Regions from separate parts of the Homo sapiens genome. Here regions 1 and 3 are each linked to region 2. The links are contacts of gene promoters, found by promoter capture Hi-C in blood cells and fetal thymus (Javierre and others, 2016). All regions are on one chromosome and are shown on one strand. Each heading gives the region's core, a stretch centred on a gene start or on the middle of the fragment in contact. The rest is flanking DNA. Distances are from core to core; before and after follow the strand shown.

Region 1 (3,358 bases), core at 771-3,270, 4.5 Mb after region 2:
TTACTGTTTTATGTAGTCTTTTAAATCATATAGCAAAGAGGAGGCATTGCAAACCAAAGACACAGTAATATGCACTTTTATATTTACCTATGTAAATACCAACAATTACTGGTATCCTTTAGTTCATATGTGATTTTAAGCCACTGTCTGATCCCCTTACATTTCAGCCTGATGGACTCTTTATAGTATTTCTTTTAGGGGAAGTTTACCAGTGACAAACTTCCTCAGTTTTTGTTTATCTGGAAATATCTTAATTTTGCCTTTATTTTTAAAGGGTTGTTTTACCAGATAGAGGATTCTTGGTTGACAGTTTCCTTTCAGCATTTTGAATATGTTATCCCACTGCCTTCTGGTCTCCATGGTTTCCAGTGAAAAATCAGTTGTTGATTGTATTGAGTGTCCTTTTCACGAGTTGCATTTTTCTTGCTGCTTTCAGGGTTCTCTCGGTTTTTGTCTTTCAACAATTTGATTATGATGCATCTTGATATGAATCCTTTTGCATTTATCCTGCTTGGAATTCATTGAGTTTATGAGCTAGATTCATGCCTTTCATCAGATTTGGAAAGTTTTAGCCATTATTTCTTCAAATATTTAGGCCTCTTTCACTCTCTTTTCCTTCTGTGCCTCCAATTATATGTATATTAGTATGTTTGGTGGGGTTCCACATGTATGTTCATTTTCCTTCAGTCCACAGACTCAGTAATTTTAATTTACCTATCTTTAGGTTTGCTGATTCTTTCTTCTTGTAGAGGTTCAAGGGATTTTGATGTTTCTCAAGAAAGAGATATGATTATAAGAAGTGGTAACACACAACAAGCTTCATTTGGTGGCACTTGGACAGGATTATATGAGAGGAAACTTCTTTTACAGCATGAAGCTGTGCAGAGGCTTACAGCGAGGTAGACTGCCATACAGAAGGGGAGGAGGGCAAGGCAACCCCTGGGGAACAGGAGAATTGGAGAGCAGGCTTACCTGTCTAGGTGATGTCACTCAGCAGCATGATGGGATGTGTAAAAATTTGAGTTTGGTACTAGTGGGCTCTTGAGCTAATGAGTCTCGTCCTGCAGTGAAGAAATAACCTAGGAACCAATACACAGAGGTCATCTTTGGCTTATTTATATAACACTTCCACTTGCTCTAATCTGTTTAATCTCTGTAGTGAATTTTAAAATGTCATTACTGTATAATTTAGTTCTATAATTCTTATTTGATTTATTTTCATAATTTCTACTTTTTATTAATATTCTCTATTTGGTGAGACATTTCTATTTGGTTCTCATAATTTCCTTTAGTTCTTTGTCCACGGTTTTCTTTAGCTCTGTGAGCATGTCTTAAATTGTTGATTTATTGTCTTTGTCTAGTAAGTCCAATGTCTGGGTTTTCTCATGGGCAGTTTCTTTTCATTTCCTTTTTTCTTGTGAATGGGCCAGCAAACTGTAGCCCTTCACAGGCCAAATCCACTGCCAGTTTTTGTAAATCGTGTTTTATTGGCACATAGTTGTATACATTCATTTATGTTTTGTGTGCCAATAAAACTTTATTTGGTTATCTGGCTAGAAAGATGGAGTTTCTCTCAGAGATACAGCCACCTGTGCTGCTGTGTAGTTTTGCATGACTGGGGCTGCTTTTATGATAAAATTAAGAAACAGTAGTGGGAATTCTTTGTTTACTTGTTGGACCACAGAGTTCTCTTCCCCAATTCTTCTGACCAGAATGGTGGGTTTACTTTTGGGGTCTATATTGCAGCTCTGCTACTGACGTAGCATTTGGGACATAGCCAGTAGGGAGAAAAGAGAAAAGGGGAAGAAAGGAAAACCAAAAATCAAGTCTTCTCACATTCTCTGTCTTGCAGAGGCCCATTTTCCTGGTCCTTTGTCCAGAAAGATAGCTTTTTCTCTGAATTTTTGTTGATTTTTACCTCCTGTGCATTTCTGTACAGGGACCACCCTGAATTCCATACTAGGGGATTAAAGAAAAAAAAACCCAGGAAACTCATCTTTGTTATTGGCCATTCTTCAAATTTTGGCACCCTTCCACAATTCATTTGTTACTAACTTTTTAGAGTTTTGAGGCAATTGCTTTTAATATATTGTCCAGATATTTTAGTTGTAATGCCTGCAAGTAAAAGGCTGTAGTGGGCTTAATACATGTTTGCTGGCATGGGAGACAAATTCGCTAGTGACTTTCATGATTTTTTTTTTTTTTTTCCGAGAAGGAGTCTTGCTCTGTTGCACGGGCTGGAGTGCAGTGGTGCAATCTTGGCTTACTGCAACCTTCGCCTTCCAGGTTCAAATGATTCTCCTGCCTCAGCCTCCTGAGTAACTGGGACTACAGGCATGCGCCACCATGTCTGTCTAATTTTTGTATTTTTAGTAGAGATGGGATTTCACCATATTGGCCAGGCTGGTCTTGTACTCGTGACCTCATGATCCACCTGCCTCGGCCTCCCAAAGTGTTGGGATTACAGGCATGAGCCACCATGCCCTGCCACTTTTATGATATTCTATACTTCTCACTAGACTTGTTGGAGGAAAAACTGGTTGTGAAGGTAACAGGCAGTTGTTTTCCCGAGGCCCAAGATTTAAACATAGTAGAGATTCTAGCTTATATGTTTACAACTTTTGTCCATATAGAGGTAAGTCATTTTAGGTAATAATTATAATTGAAATCATGTATTACAACAAATCCTTGACTAATAGCCTTTAGTTCAACATCATTGTGTTATAATGTTAATGAGAAAAAAAACAAAACAAAACAATTCGTAGCTGGGCCCACTGTCTATGTAGAGTTTGCATGTTCTCCCCATGCCTGCACATATTTTCTCTGGGTATTCTGGTTTCCTCCCACATCCCAAAGCTGTGTACATTAGGTTTTGTATAAGGTGTGCATGTGTCTAGATGGTCCCGGTATGAGTGAGTGTACATGTGCCCTGTGGTGCATTGGTGTCCTGTCCATTGCTGGTTCCTACCTTGTGCCCTGACCTCTGGTCACCTGCAACCCTGAACTGGAATAACTGGGTAAATAATTATCTTACTTGTTTTTATTAATCTTTCTTAAATGTATAGGTCACATTTGTTTCAGTGTTTAATCTTATTTAATAATTCCTTTAAATTAATATCTTTTATATTCAGTTTTATTTGATTGTCTGAAAAGTATCTTCTTAGAATTGGTTCAATTCTGGATCTCAGTGTGGCCCACACATGGTATTTGTTGATAAAGCTTTTAATTTTCCAAGATTTGTATTGGCCTTCATCCTGACCCTAACCATCTTTTTATGATGTAACTTTTAAAAATTATTTTTTAGAATAGATTTTATTTTGGAATAATTTTATTTTTATATTATATATTTAAAATATAT
Region 2 (3,251 bases), core at 514-3,013:
AACCTAGGTGTCTTAAATCTGTCATATTACAAAATACAAATGACACTTTAATAAAACTCAACAGGGCTGAACTTTCTGCATGTCTTCTTCACACACTTAAAAAAATCTCAACTACATTCTGAACATTATTAATGTATCGTACAATGTCATAATTTTGATTTCCTATATCAAGGGAAACACCGTCATAACCTTTGTTTTAAAAACATGTGAACTCTACACTCTGCCCCCACTCCTTTACAAACAAAGGCTCATTAAGAGACGTTAAAAAAATATCCCTTCAGCTATGAATTAATGCCTTTCTGGTTTCACCAACACTGAGGAACGCACCCCAATTCTTGGCTGTGTTCTCAAGCCCTAAATAAATGCAGTGAAGAGAACCCCCTGCGGCTCTAACAAGATTACGTGGCCCGACCAGGATGACACCCCCCATTCCCTCGAGGATCAAGGTGCCAGCCATCTTGCTTACCTTACTTATGGGGATTCGCCTTCCCTCTGCGATGGTCTTCTTATTATTTAAATAAGCAGGATAGATACAAATAAACCTGCCATAGACAATAGCATAAGTGGTATCACTAGAGCAGTAAGAGGCAGGAGAAAAGGGTCGGGTGGCAGGGAACCAAAGGCCAATTCATGCTGCCTAGATATCAGATGGGTACTCCCTTTTCAACCCCTCCTTTTTCTGCGTGGCAGTTGAAAAATCAAAGTACCTCGGAGTGGTCCCCTCGAGCAACTAATCAGACTGGCCGCGGGCCTACTCCTCTTTCTGATTGATCCCCCTCCCTCAACCAATCAGACTGGCACAGGTCAATGGGAAACGTCTAGAGGGTATTTAAACCCTAGAAAATTCTGTAACCAACAGCTCTTGGGTAGCTTGCTGGAGCCGGCTCCCACCCTGTGGAGTGTACTTTTGTTTAAAATAAATCTGCTTTCGCTGCCTTGCTTTGTGTGTTTTGTTCAATTCCTTATTCAAAACGCCAAGAACCTGGACAACTACACTCAACAGATAACAAGTATTTTCAAAAATACATTCTTTCGGTCCGTGGTAGTCGTCATCATTGCTGGTACACCTATGCTATTATTTGCTTAATGTTATTTCTTTAAATTACCTCACTTTAACTTATTTAAAAATAAACTTTATCCACTACCTTGGATGGAAAAAAACCACAGGAATAGAAACAAAACGACTTGGGTAACTGTTACATTAGACAGAGCAGCCCGTCAAAAGTTCCTGAGAATGGGCCCGCCCTCTTATATAAAGTGTCCGAGGTATTAAAAACCTTAAAATTTCACAAATGAGCCTTTCTGAACGCAACAATACTTAAAAAGAACACATTTCTCACACTGTGATTATATTACTTGATATCATGTCCACGTAGCACCCAAAATCCTTGTCTCGCGTACAGATAAACACTAGGCTACCTATGGTCGGAATTTCAGGAGCCCTGAGAAGAGCCTGGTGGCTGCTGCAGGATTCAGAAAAACGAGCTGCCAGGGAGAGGCGCGGGGCCCGTACAGAGCGAGTTGGATCAGCTAGGCCATTCTGGAGGCCGCGGAGCGGAGAAGCGCGGTGTAGCACCTGCAGCACCACAGCAAGCCCCTTCCTTTCGGAGGACCCACCGCCTCAGAACCCACCTGTCCTGGTCGGCCGGGGACCGCGCGGCAGCGCAAGCCATCTTCACAAGAGTCTCAACAACCCAGGAGCCGCAGGGAGAAACCCGGCAGAAACCCGGGAGGAACCCGGCTCTGAGTTTCCGAGACAGCCCGCTTTTCCGCCGGAAGTCCTGCCCAAGAAATGGTTCCGCGTCCGCGATTTCTCATCGCCTGTTTGTTCCGGCACCTGTCGCTCGGCGCCAGGATCTCTAGTCTCTGACGTGGCATGAAGACTTCCCTTCTCGCGAGAGAATCATGAAAGCTTCTCATTCCTTTCCCAAGCCGGGAAGACCATGTGGGGCGCATGCACCGCCACTAAAAAGGGTTTAACTTCGACCCTCCCTCGTTTCCAGTTTCTCAGCGAGTATGGGTGGTACTAGCTACTCTCTGTTAAGGGGCGAAGACTGTGCCACGAGGGGAATCTGTGTGGTTCAGGATGCAAATATATGTTAGACAGGGAAGGAAATACTCCTTACGTTTAATTTTTCTCCGTTCCTGGGCTCTAGAGCTTGCTTTCAGTTTGGCAAAATGGATTTTTGTAGTGGTAGAACTAGCAAAGTTATAGACGTTGTGTTTCAGTGTGCTCTGCGTTAGAAACTTAGCTATTCACCTTTTAGGCCGGGTGCGGTGGCTCACGCCTGTATCCCAGCACTTTGGGAGACTGAGGCAGGTGGATCATGAGGTCAGGAGTTGGAGAGCAGCCTGGCCAACATGCTGAAACCCCGTCTGTACTAAAAATACAAAAATTAGCCGAGTGTGGTGGCACACGCCTGTAATCCCAGCTACTCGGAGGCTGAGACAGGAGAATCACTTGAACCCAGGAGGTGGAGGTTGCAGTGAGCTGAGATCACACCACTGCACTCCAGCCTGCGTAACAGAGCAAGACTCCGTCTAGGAAAAACGAAACAAAACTATTCACCTTTTAAAACTTCTGAAGGATACCATGTGCCATCACTACAGGCATACTTCATTATTGCACTTCACTTGCTGCTGCGAGTAGATACTGCCTTTTTACAAATGGAAGGTTTTTGGCAAATCCGCCTGAAAGAAGTTGCTTGGTGCCATTTTTCCAGCAGCGTATACTTTGTGTCACATTTGGTAATTTTTGCAATATTTCAAACCTTTTCATTATTTCTGTTATGGTGATCGGTGATCAGTGATGTTTGCTGTTACTATTGTAATAGTTTTAAGGCCGGGTGCGGTGGCTCACGCCTGTAATCCCAGCACTTTGGGAGGCCGAGGCAGGTGGATCACGAGGTCAGGAGATAGACACCATCTTGGCCAACATGGTGAAACCCCATCTCTACTAAAATATAAAAAATAAGCCAGGCATGGTGGCACAGGCCTTTAGTCCCAGCTACTCGGGAGGCAGGGGAATCTCTTGAACCCAGGAGGTGGAGGTTGCAGTGAGCCAAGATCACACCACTGCACTCCAGCCTGGCGACAGTGCAAGACTCCGTCTCAAATAATAATAATGTTTTGGGGCACCATGAACCATGCCCAGATAAGATGGGGAACTTAATGGATAAATGTTGTGTATGTTTTAACTGTTCGACCAACTGGCCATTTCCCATCTCTCTCCCTCTTCTGGAGTCCCTATT
Region 3 (2,985 bases), core at 1-2,500, 3.2 Mb after region 2:
GCGCTTCCCCACTCGGTTCCCCCTGTCTGCCACAAACAAACCAGATGTAATAGCTGAAGAATGACGACACTAAAATCAACCTAGAGATTCACATCTAAAAGGGCCGCAACACGAAATAAACTTCTCTCTCTTCAGAGGCAGCGGGGAAGAAAAAGAAAAAAAAGCCTAGGTGGGTTCGGTTTGATCCATTTCCGCGACTCCGTGCGCTCAGGGGCTCTGGGCTGGTGCGGGCGGCTTAACCCTGTGAGAGCCGAGAACGACCCCACCGGGATACGCGGGCCCCGGGCTGGCGGGGGGTGCCTCACGCCGCGCCCGTTCCCCCGCCAGCAGGTGCCCGAAGCCACCCCAACAGGCCGGGTGCGAATGCCGGAACATGGCCACTTTCCTGAGCGGGATGATGCCGCCGCCGCCGCCGCACGCCGCCCAGCACTTTGTTAACTTGGCGCGCCCGGGCGAGGTGGCTCCCAGGAGGTGATCATTGCCGTCCGAGAGCTACAGAGCCCCTGGCCTCGCCCAGCACGGGTGTGGGGCCGCGGCGGGAGGAAGAGGTTGGGTAGCAGCCGCTAACCAGGGGCCCGCACGCCTGGCCCCTCGGAGCCCCGCGCCCCCTTCCCAGGTGCTTACCTGAGGGAAGGAGCCCTCGCGGCGCGGGTTCCTGGGGTAGTCTAAGTGACCCCGGTCCAGCATCAGGTAGAGCGAGAAAATCACCACACAGAAGATCGCACTGCCGAACACGGTGAACTGGCGGCTTAACTTCATTTTCCTCGATAGACTCGGGGCCAGGACACTCTCCTCAGCCAAAGGAGACAGCGCACTGTGGACTCTAGGAAGCAGCCGCCGGAGGCTCCCTTCTCCCGGGCTGCGCGACCTCCGCGCTCTCGGATGCGGGTGCGAGTCCCCGCCTTGCTCCGCACCTAGTCTCCGGCGCCACCACACGCCCTTGGCCTTCGCCCTGGCCTGCCGCCCTCCCCGGGGTCGGGCGCCCCTCTCGAGGCGAGACTCGCCGGCAACTGGGAAGGGGGGCCCCCACAAACTTGATCGCAAGCTCAGCGCCGACCTCCGGCAGGGCGCGCGGGGCAGGCGGAGGAGAGGTCGCTGCCCGCACTTCCTGCCACCGCCGCCCCAACTGAGTCGGCAGGAAAAGTTTTCTCGACGAGGGCAGGCGTGTCCTCCTCACCCAGGGGAGGCGCGGGTTCGGCAGCTCCCGGGCCGGGGCCGCGCAGCTAGGTCAGAGAAGCGGAGGGGAAAGGAACAAGATCGCGAGGAGCCAAGCCCTACAACTTCTGGGCGGGACGGTCGGGCCCGCCCCCGCGGCACCGGCACCGCCCCCGCCTACCCCGACTGAGCCCCTTCGTGCTGCTGCCGCCGCCGCCGCCGACGCTGCGGCTGGGCCGATGTGCACCCCGGACTCCGGGGCTCACGGATTGATGAGTTTCCTCAGAGCTAGCGTCCGCTCGCCAGACTCTCCCGCCCCCCGCCGCCCCTACCTTCCCCCTCCCGGACCCAGGCTCCGCGGGGAGGCGCAGGGGGCGGGCGGCGGCAACGCGGAAAGAAGGAAAAGGAGAGCAGGGAGGAAAGGACCGTCCCCGGAGAGAAGCCCGCTCCAGCTGCAGCCGCTAGCCCCCTCCCTCTTTCCCGCCCCACAAACGCGGAGATGGCGGCGGAAGCGGCGAAAGGAAGCGCCGGTTCTCCAGCGCCACTTGGCGCTCCAGCACCGCCCGCCACGAGCAGGAGGAGACAGCGGCGGCGCAGCAGCCGCTGGGTCAATAGGCGCCCGCAGCGCCTGAGCCGAGCGGGCGGCTGGCCCCGCCCCCTCCCGACGCTCCGAGATGAGGGGGCGGGCCCCACGGCGCCCAATCACAGCGCGTCGCCCGGCGGACCCGCCCCGCGCCTGCCTCCCAGTGTCCCGGCGATAGGAAGACCTCACAGGGCTCTTGTGACCTGGCAGGCAGCTTTCTGGGAGTTGAGGCCTTCGGGGGCGTTCAGGCGCCAGCACCCCCACGTCCAACAGGGGTTGAGCTTACACCCCACTTCCCTTTGTTGCTCAGGTTTCCTATCCTAGGACACTCGGGCCTGGCGTGCCTGGAAGAGTACTTGGTGACGGGCTGGAGGAAATGCAAGAGAAGAGGGCTTGCACATTCTCTTCGGGCTCACTATTTCCTCCTTTGGTGACAGCCTGTTAAAACCTGGGGGAAAGGAGACTGACAAAGGGCCGTCCAGGCACATGTAGAAACATCTGACTACGAAATCCATGAGTGTAATCTGAGAAGTGATGCTTCTGCCAGTTATTGATTTATTGCCTCTCAGCTCCAAATTCGCCCTTTTTGACTGCACTGTAAAAACGGATCTGAGCCTTTTAAACAGTTTTTCGTTTGCCTTCTGGGACTGAAGCTTTATCAGCAGAGGGCGCTGAAGAGACATTACAGAAAAAAAGGATTTTGCTTCCTGATTTCTGTGTATTGATAAGCTTTTGCAGCATACCTGGCTTTCTCCACTGCCAAGGTCCTATAGTGCTCAGTAACTAGCAATTTCCTCTCACATGCCCAACTCTAGGAGCTTTGTAGAGGAGGTGAGACACTACCCCATGAATAACTTCCCTGGCACCCTAGAGGCATTTGCAGCAAGTTGCAGAGGGCACATCTTCCACAAGCTTTGCAGACGTAGCCCAATGGTGACTTCTCTGCCATTCAGTGAGCCAGGTCATGCCCTCTCCAAAAACGTCTAGATCTTAGCCCTGGGAGGAATTGGGGAGGTTCTTCATTGGGCACTCTGTCTCTCAACCCAAGAGTTAGTTATAAGGTTAGCTCCTTATAGCTGCTGTTGCTATATTCTTTAAAGTTCTCTTCTTGCTAGTGAATCCTTCATTACTCTAATCCTCTATTATAGTTAACAATTCTTTTTATTAAGCCTTCCCTGTCCCGGGAGTAGTCCCAAGAAATAGACCTGCAAAGATGGGATTAAAGGTCAGTTTGATTGAGGTTTTGA

The links. Contacts are between HindIII fragments. The CHiCAGO score rates a contact against its expected background, and 5 or more counts as called.
Region 1: a fragment that was not itself captured here is called in contact with the fragment with the promoter of SRP19 in region 2 in 1 of 17 cell types (non-activated CD4 T cells); the score reaches 5.4 in non-activated CD4 T cells.
Region 3: a contact is called between the fragment with the promoter of MAN2A1 here and the fragment with the promoter of SRP19 in region 2, in 1 of 17 cell types (fetal thymus). The highest score is 6.9, in fetal thymus.

What each region holds. Positions count from the first base shown.
Region 1 is chr5:108,369,594-108,372,951 of GRCh38, reverse strand. The region is part of intron 1 of FBXL17 (F-box and leucine rich repeat protein 17); the gene reads left to right. Among named protein-coding and RNA genes, the nearest start is that of FBXL17, 11 kb to the left of the region's middle. The HindIII fragment of the contact is 2,402 bases long and covers 820-3,221 here.
Region 2 is chr5:112,859,799-112,863,049 of GRCh38, reverse strand. SRP19 (signal recognition particle 19) reads right to left here and starts at 1,763. Exons shown (of 5, transcript NM_003135.3): 1 at 1,633-1,763; 2 at 467-542. The coding sequence starts at 1,673. RefSeq lists enhancers at 1,466-1,765, 1,866-1,945, 1,704-1,998. The HindIII fragment of the contact is 2,166 bases long and covers 1-1,914 here.
Region 3 is chr5:109,688,192-109,691,176 of GRCh38, reverse strand. It overlaps MAN2A1 (mannosidase alpha class 2A member 1), which reads right to left and starts at 1,250. Exons shown (of 22, transcript NM_002372.4): 1 at 625-1,250. The coding sequence starts at 759. It overlaps MAN2A1-DT (MAN2A1 divergent transcript), which reads left to right and starts at 78. Exons shown (of 1, transcript NR_186543.1): 1 at 78-2,985. RefSeq lists silencers at 387-486, 897-1,106, 1,137-1,656, 1,667-1,956 and enhancers at 2,067-2,166, 1,926-2,594. The HindIII fragment of the contact is 3,132 bases long and covers 1-2,393 here.